3 separate regions of the Homo sapiens genome follow, and all the other regions are linked to region 1. The links are contacts of gene promoters, found by promoter capture Hi-C in blood cells and fetal thymus (Javierre and others, 2016). All regions are on one chromosome and are shown on one strand. The core of a region is centred on a gene start or on the middle of the fragment in contact, and the rest is flanking DNA. Distances in the headings are between cores, read along the strand shown. Region 1 holds the start of HMMR-AS1 (HMMR antisense RNA 1). Region 2 has its middle 60 kb from the start of MAT2B. Region 3 holds the start of LOC105377700 (a long non-coding RNA gene).

The links. The method cuts DNA at HindIII sites, captures the fragments that hold promoters and counts their contacts. A CHiCAGO score of 5 or more calls a contact.
Region 2: a contact is called between a fragment that was not itself captured here and the fragment with the promoter of HMMR-AS1 in region 1, in 2 of 17 cell types (non-activated CD4 T cells and activated CD4 T cells). The highest score is 6.0, in non-activated CD4 T cells.
Region 3: a fragment that was not itself captured here is called in contact with the fragment with the promoter of HMMR-AS1 in region 1 in 4 of 17 cell types (total CD8 T cells, non-activated CD4 T cells, total CD4 T cells and 1 more); the score reaches 7.3 in total CD8 T cells.

What each region holds. Positions count from the first base shown.
Region 1 is chr5:163,492,744-163,495,443 of GRCh38, reverse strand. It overlaps HMMR-AS1 (HMMR antisense RNA 1), which reads left to right and starts at 1,386. Exons shown (of 4, transcript NR_109892.1): 1 at 1,386-1,745; 2 at 1,895-2,001. The HindIII fragment of the contact is 5,178 bases long and covers 1-2,700 here.
Region 2 is chr5:163,564,209-163,566,908 of GRCh38, reverse strand. No RefSeq gene overlaps it. Among named protein-coding and RNA genes, the nearest start is that of MAT2B, 60 kb to the right of the region's middle. The HindIII fragment of the contact is 4,254 bases long and covers 1-2,700 here.
Region 3 is chr5:163,411,896-163,414,595 of GRCh38, reverse strand. It overlaps LOC105377700 (a long non-coding RNA gene), which reads left to right and starts at 1,042. Exons shown (of 4, transcript XR_002956233.2): 1 at 1,042-2,277. The HindIII fragment of the contact is 1,038 bases long and covers 809-1,846 here.

The sequences.
Region 1 (2,700 bases), core at 137-2,636:
AGTCTCTAATTTATACAGACAAAAATCTGGGAACATATGTCGGAATGGATAATAAAGGTGTTGGAAAATGATGGAAGGAACATAAAGTTGGATCAGGTCAAATTTATTGACATGGGCTCACTAAGCCAAGATTCTGCATTTAACATTGCAGCTTGGGGAGTTAGAAAGGGTGCTCACAGTTTGATTGGCTTACTAAAACATGGAAAAGATGAATTGGAAGTGCTGGACATGCCTTGGTTTAATCTAGAGGATGGGATTAAAAGGTTTAGGAATATTGGGAAATTAGATTTTTCACTTAAGAACTACTCATCTCGGGTGGATCATGAGGTCAGGAGATCGAGACCATCCTGGCTAACAAGGTGAAACCCCGTCTCTACTAAAAATACAAAAAATTAGCCGGGCGCGGTGGCGGGCGCCTGTAGTCCCAGCTACTCGGGAGGCTGAGGCAGGAGAATGGCGTGAACCCGGGAAGCGGAGCTTGCAGTGAGCAGAGATTGCGCCACTGCAGTCCGCAGTCCGGCCTGGGCGACAGAGCGAGACTCCGTCTCAAAAAAAAAAAAAAAAAAAGAACTACTCATCCACACTGGGAAGGTCAAGAAAGCATACCTTTCACCAATACTATGAGAAAGAAATTTGCGAGGAGAGCTCCAGCATCTTTTTCAGAACTCTGTGATGGCTCTTCTCTGTAGGCCAGAGCTCACTGCAGTCACTGAACTGGAAAACCTAAATATAATGGAAGTAAAGGATCCCAGGGTGGCAAGGGTCAAGTAATGGGACTCAACCACCAAAGGCAAGGTGAAGTGGTTATCATAATGACAGAGCCAAAGGAACAATTAGAATAATCTCACTTGTAGACCTATGCTTTGGCTAGTTGATCATGGTTTTCCTAGACGTGAAATAGATAGGAAGCCTACTGAAGTCTTAACTTGATCTGTATAAGCAGAAAACTTCTAAGTCAAGTGACGAAAGTTGAACTCGAATCATAAAAACAGAATCGTGGTCCCTTAATTCCCAAACTTGAGCCACTTTATAGAGCCCAAAACCCTTTGATTGAAGGGGAGGACCTCAAAGGGACCCTGGTCCATAACCAAATGTTTATACTGTTAGTCTTTCTCCTAGTCCTCCGCAAAGGGATGTACAACCTTTACCAACGTAACTGTGCATTAGAAAAAGGGAATAATCAGATCTTTTGTGAACTAGTGGACACTGGCTCTCTGAAGTGACACTAATTTCAGGAGATCCAAAGTGCTACTGTCAGGGTAGCAGCTTATGGAGGTCAGGTGATCAGCAGAGTTTTAGCTTAGTTCCATCTCACAATGGGCCCAGTGAATTCCTGAACCTATCCTGTGGTTATCCCCTAGTTCTAGAATGTATAATTAGAATACAGTCAGCAGCTGACAGAATAATCCACACATTGGTTTCCTTACCTATGGAGTGAGGGCTATTATGGTGGAAAAGGCCAAGTAGAAGCCACTAGAACTATCTGTACTTAGGAAAATAGTAAACCAAAAGCAATGCTCAATTCCTATAGGGACTGAAGAGATTAGTGCCACCATAAGTACTTGAAGGAAGGCGGGGTGGTGATTCCTACCATATGTCCATTCAACTCGCCTATTTAGCCTGGGCAGAAGACAGATGGATTATCACAAACTTAACTAGGTGGTGACTCCAATTGCAGCTACAGTACCAGATGTATTGCTTGAGCAAATTAACACAACTCCTGGTTCCTGGTATGCAGCTACCTGGTATGATCTGGCAAATGCCTTTCTCTCCATCCCTGTCTATAAGGCCGACCAGAAGCAGTTTGCTTTTAGCTAGCAAGGCTAGAAATGCACCTTCATGTCCTACCTCAGGGCATATCAACTCACCAGCCCTGTCCTAATTTTGTTCACAGGAATCTTGATTGCCTTTTCTTTCCACATCACATTGGTCCATTACATTGACGACATTATGCTCACTGGACCTAATGAGTGAGACATAGCAACTACTCCAGACCTATTGGTAAGACATTTGCATGTCAGAAGTGGGAAGTAAATCCAACAAAAATTCAAAGGCTTTTTCATGTCTCAGTAAAATTTCTAGGGGTCCAGTGGTATGAGGCATGTTGAGATACCCCTTCTAAGGTAAGTTTTTGCATCTGCCCCCTCCTACAACCAGAAGAGGCATGACATGCGGCAGGCCTCTTTGGATTTTGAAGACGTTTCCTCATTTGAGTTTGTTACTCTGGCCCATTTACTGAGTGACTTGAAAAGCTGCTAGTTTGGAGTAGGACTCAGAATAGGAAAGGTTCTGCAATAGGTCCAGGCTATTGTGTAAGCGGCTTTGTTGCTTGGGACATATGAACTTGCAGATCCAGTGGTATTTGAAGTGTCAGTGGCAGATAGAGATGCTGTTGGAACCTTTGGCAGGCCCACATAGATGAATCTCAGTGCAGACCCTTAGTATTTTGAAGAAAGACCTGTTATCCTATGCAGATAACTACTCTTTTGAGAAACAGCTCTGGGCCTACTGCTGGGCTTCAGTAGGGACTGAATGCTTACCGTGGTCAATTAAGTTACCATGCGACCTGAGCTGCCCATCATGAGCTGGGTGTTATCTGACCCACAAGCCATAATGCTGGGTGTGGACAGCAGGAGTACATCATCAAAGAACGTGTTATGTATGTGACTGGGCCCAGGCAGGACCTGAAGGCAAAAGCAA
Region 2 (2,700 bases), core at 171-2,670, 71 kb before region 1:
CACCCGATCTCCATGTTCTCTGTCTGCCTGGTACCCCTGGGCCTGGTCTCCTGTTAATCAGCTGAAAGCACCATCTTACTCACTTCCCCCACAGGAAAGATTTTATTGGAATATAAAGTTACATAAGATCTGTGCTATTGTTTTGAAAAAGTCACCAAACTTCACCGTTAGATAACTTATTTTTATTCCAGACTCTAGCTATTACAGTATTATCTTATTTTAAGCTAACAGATACACCCAATTCAGGTATAACACTGGACACAGTTCAGGTGACAGAGCCAGCACCACCACTCAGATATTTTGGTGGCTTCTATTCTTTGAGCAGCGTGGTTTAGCACTTTTGGGCACTGGGAAATTACCCAAGGCCAGCACCTGCCAATTTCCTTTTTGAGTCACCTCATTCTGCGCGTGATGCTCAACTCTAGGGCTCACTAGATCTAAGGGCTTCCCCCGCGCCCCATCTCTCCGTTTCCCAAATTTGAACCTCAGGGGGCCTGGGGTGAGCAGCCCTGGCTCCTTAGCGGCTAGAGAACCGGTTCCGCATTGGAGCCGCAGCCACCGGCTTATCCCGGACCGGCCGCGGCGCTGCGGGTCTTTGATAGCGAAACGCCCGCAGGCAGCACCTCTGGAGGTGAGTGTGGGAAGAAAGCCCGACTGAGCCTGGGCTTTGACTTGTAAACAGAGGCTTTGAAAGAGCAAAGTTGTGAGTTTGTCTCCACTAAAGCAAACTTCCTCTGCTGTTTGCTTTGGGAGTTTTGCCGACGTATCTGCAGAACAAGAATGGATTTCCTGTCTGTTCCTGCAGCCTCCTCCAGCTACGTGCAGCTCAGCTGCCACCGCGAGGCTGCAGAGCGGGCATGGAGACGCGTCTGGGTCAGAGCCCACGATCCAAAGGGTTTTCCCCTCCCGCTCTCCTTCTTTAACCCTTTCTTTCTCCCAGCTTAGTCAGGCAGTGTATCTGCAACTTGCCAAACGAGTGATGGTTAGGAGGCTCCGAGGAGCACCAGCCTTAAAACCCACTGCTTCCAAAATAAAGCTAAGGAAAAGTCAGGGCGTGGTCGACCTCTGAACGCGTGCCCGGTATGGCGCTAAGCAGTGTACCCATATAGGACAGTGACTACCTCGCAGGCTGTTGTAAGATTAAATGAGGTTGTCCCCATTGAACCATCAGGATAAAAGATGACTGGACTCTCAAGTGTCCTTGGGGTTTAACCAAGGACAACCCCAGGCCAGCCCACTTTTAAAGACGAAGCTCTCCCAGGTGCTGAAAATCGAATGCCCGCAAGGCCAGGCAATTACTCTAAGTGCTACAGCAGGGAGGTCTAGATTTAGGATCATTTTTTTTTCTTGAGACATGTGGCTCTCCTACTATACCTTTCTATTTTTTTTTTTCCTTTGAGACGGGCATGGGTATTAAATTCTCATTTTCCTTTTTATTACAACGAAAAGAGTACAAACGTGGTTAAAAAGGGCACCTCCCTTAGTGTCAGGAAAACAAAAGGGAAGATCTGTGTGTGCAGTGACTGCATAAAGCCACAAAGGTGGCTCTGCCGATTGTCACCAGGGGCTGTTCAGGCTAGAAATACCATGCTGTCCGATGTTTCAAGAAAAGCAAGAAACCTAGATCTTTAATGAGAAGTCTTTGCATTTAAGCGTTGAAAACTAATTTTTTTTAAAATGGACAGGCCAATATAACATGGCAAACCAAATATTCCCATAGAAAAGATGCTAGTACTGCCTACTTTTGGGTGAAACCTCTGCATTATTCTGCCTTAGGAAGAGTGAGCTGGTTAGTTCTGAGTGAAGACCTCCAGAACCCAGAGAGACTGGGGGACATTAGGAACCCAGCAGGACCAAGCCCATCCGTGAAAGGAACACTTCAGAGTTTCTGTGACCGCGGAGTAAGTAAGGTCACACAAGGTATCCTCAGAGAAAGCTGGCTGTAGTCTCCCTACTTAATGGGCGTGGAGAAACATTAATCACAAAGATAATCCAATAGGAACAACAGGATGAGAATCATATCGAAAGGGTATTGGAGGGTTTGGGGGGGAAAGACGGGTTTATGTATTATCTCTGTGACATTTTCAATGAAATGCAAAATCAACAGAGCATCTTCTGCCAGGGTCACTGTGGTAATGAATGCTGACCTCAACTTGTTAGCACACCAATCCCTCAAAACAGCAAAAAAGAGAAAAAATCAACTGCCTTTGCTACCTTTATCAGCATAAACAAAGAGATAAAAATACGGTATAAAATTTTAACTGTCTTTCCCCATTCTACCTGCAAATGCGAAATTCCCCTGTGCTTCAATAAAGGAAAAATACATCCAATGAAGTCTAACAAATGTGCCATCTGTTCAGAAAGCAGCAGGCGAGCATCTTTTACACGTGACACCATTGCCCTCGTGTGGTCTAAAAGAATAGTGCAGCTGTTTCCCAAGGAGGCTTGAAAGGTTATGACTAAAAACTGTAGTTTTCATAAATATAAAACATTTACAACATTGAACAATATGTGAAAAAAACTTACACTTTAAAGAACACAAAAACTGGGCTTATTGTGTTGACTGTAAACATAAATTAAAAACAATAAAATAAAAATAAAGAGAATAAAGAACACAAATACCGCTTACAATAAAACCTCTGTTCAAATCAGATTCCGGTCTCTGGGTTTCATTCCACACTGAATTACCTTATAGCAAGG
Region 3 (2,700 bases), core at 78-2,577, 81 kb after region 1:
AGCAACAAGGAATTCTATGGTCCAAAACGTCAATCATGCCAAAGTGACTGGGCATCATCATCTCCGGCATATTGATGATTAGACAACTGAGAGATCTATTCACAAAACTATTTCACAAAAATTATATATAGAGCTTCTTGGGGGGCATTTATTTTCTCCACCAAGGGATCCTCTGATATTCTGTCAGCAGATATTTTCTTAAAATTAAATTTATTTGAAAGTGTTTTGAGAGTGAGGTAGGGAAGGGAGCTGGCATTCTCAGAACCTGTCTTTAGTTGGATGCCTTCTCCTGCTTTCTGGGTGCCAGGTGTTCCAGAGTCTAGGGTCTCTCTGCTGCAGTGTCCTTTGAGAACAAGCACTGCAGTATGCTGTGGGGGTTAGGGAAGAGCAGTTGCTTGGCTGTGATGAGGGCATGGGGATCTGAGAGCTTAACTGCTCCTTATACAGATTATCAACTGATCACATACATTTCAGTCTATCTTCTAGGTTACCTGGAGCCTTCAATTTCTGTGAGCTTCTCTCTCCTCCCTCCTTCCCGTCTCACCTTCCCTCCATCTCTTCCTTCTTTCCTTCCTTCTTTTTCTCCCTTTCTTTCCCTCCCTCCCTCCCTTCCTTCCCTCCCTCCCTCCCCTCTTTCCTTCCTTCCTCCTTCCCTCCCTCCTTCCCTCCCTTCCCCTCTTCCTCCCTTCCCCCTTTCTCCTTTCCTCCCTTCCTCCCTTCCTTCCTTCCTTCCTTCCTTCCTTTTTTTCTTTCTTTCCTGAATAGGATTTCTTTTTTGGAAACCTTTCCTGAAGTCATGTTTTAAGCTTTCTCAGCTCTGGTAAATCAGTTACCATTCCTATATCAACTTTCAGTCTCAAAAAAACATGTTAATTTCTTCTTCATTGTCTCCTCTCCCATTCTCTTTACATTTTGAATTTAGACTTTTTACATTTATTTCACTATTGCTTTAGTGAATTTTTATTGAACCGTGTGACAATCAACCATATATTCAGCATGCCTTGTTAAAAGGTAGTTCAAATATGCCCTTAATCTTTTTGCGTGGCTTTAGAGTATCAGATAATTTTAAAAAATGATATAAAATAATGAAGTGATTCATACTCCAGAGATTCATCATCTCCTTTTCTGGGATAGGGCATCTGATGTACAAATAAGGGCAAATGACCAGGGGGCACAGATTGTCAGACCTGAAACAGCAGTGTTCACTGGAGAAGTTTCAGACTGTAGGGGTAGCAGGCACGTGGGCACCTTTGGCCTGTTTATTCTAGGCCAGCACAGAGTTCTAGCAAAGCCAGACTTCAGATTGCCTGAGAGGGGCTTTCACCTGCATAATTAGGGATGCTCCAGCCCCTCTCCTAGAGTGGTAAGAGGCCATGATACAATAGCACTATGACGTGATGGAATCTTGGCAGCAGCCCTAGCCCTTACCTAGAGAATGGCAAAGCTGCAGAAGAAACTGCCAATGGAGTGCTCAACTCCAGAAGCCTGAAACCTAGGTCGGCTTGGCAAGGTGCCTTGCGCCCCAGTGTCATGGCTGCGGTGGAGCCGCCCACTTCAAGGGGCCCTGCAGAATCAGACAGTGAGGATAGTGGCAGCAATCACAATGGGCTGAAGATTAAATAACTCTTGTTGACTTTTTCAAGTATTTATAAGCTCCCCAGATTCCCATGGAAGTCTACAGAAGGACATAATGAGAAAAGTAGGTTTAAAGGAAATAATGTGAAATTTCTTCCACACTTGAGTTGGTGAGTTAAACGCCACTTAGTCTATATGTGGTTTAAATGTTGTCCCATTGCCTCATTATGGCCTGATGTAAATTCATATGAAACTAGGATATTTAAAAGCTTATTGGGATAGCAAAATAGAGTTGATGTATTCACTGCAAAGATTATGGAGACCATTTATTGCTCTGAACATTTCAATATGTTGGCTTCTTGAGATTCCAACCCCAAGGGGACATGATAGTGATGAAGATGGAGAAATAGAAGTTTAAACAGCACAATTTGAAGAGGGGGCAAAAGTAACACTTTGATGAACCTAGACCATATAGACCAGTATAAGGTCAGCAAAGTCTGGAGGACCATGTGCTCTCTCCCTAGATTGGACCAGAAGCCCAGGCTCTACTTTTAGGAAATGGCTCAGAGAGCGCCCACTGAACTTGTCTCTGATGTCTTAGGCAGATCAAATGCTTCTCTGGTCTCTGCTTTCACAGATGGAGGATCAGGGGTGTGTGAGCACCACCCCGCTTGGTCTTGGAGACGGATCAAATCCAGACTGGTGAGTTCCGGGGGCTTGGGCAAAGTGTGGATAGAGTTTCTGAGGGTAGGATGATGAGGACATTTGGCTTGGGGGCTGAGAAGGAACATTTTTCCTGTAAAATTAAATCTTTACTAAGACTACTGCCATTAGGGGCAAGTACTGAAGAAGATCATGTGTTTCAAAGTAAGTAGCCTGACAAGATCTTGTTTGGGTTAAAAATACGTATTTATCTTATTTTCATTTTCAATATCTTATTTTACAGAGTTCTCTATTAAGAGATGCTATGAGTGGCTAGGCGTGGTGGCTCCTGCCGGTAATACCAGCATTTTGGGAGGCCGAGGCAGGTGGATCGCCTGAGGTCAGGAGTTTGAGAGCAGCCTGACCAACATGGTGAATCCCCATCTACTAACAATACAAAAATTAGCTGGGTGTGGTGGCGCA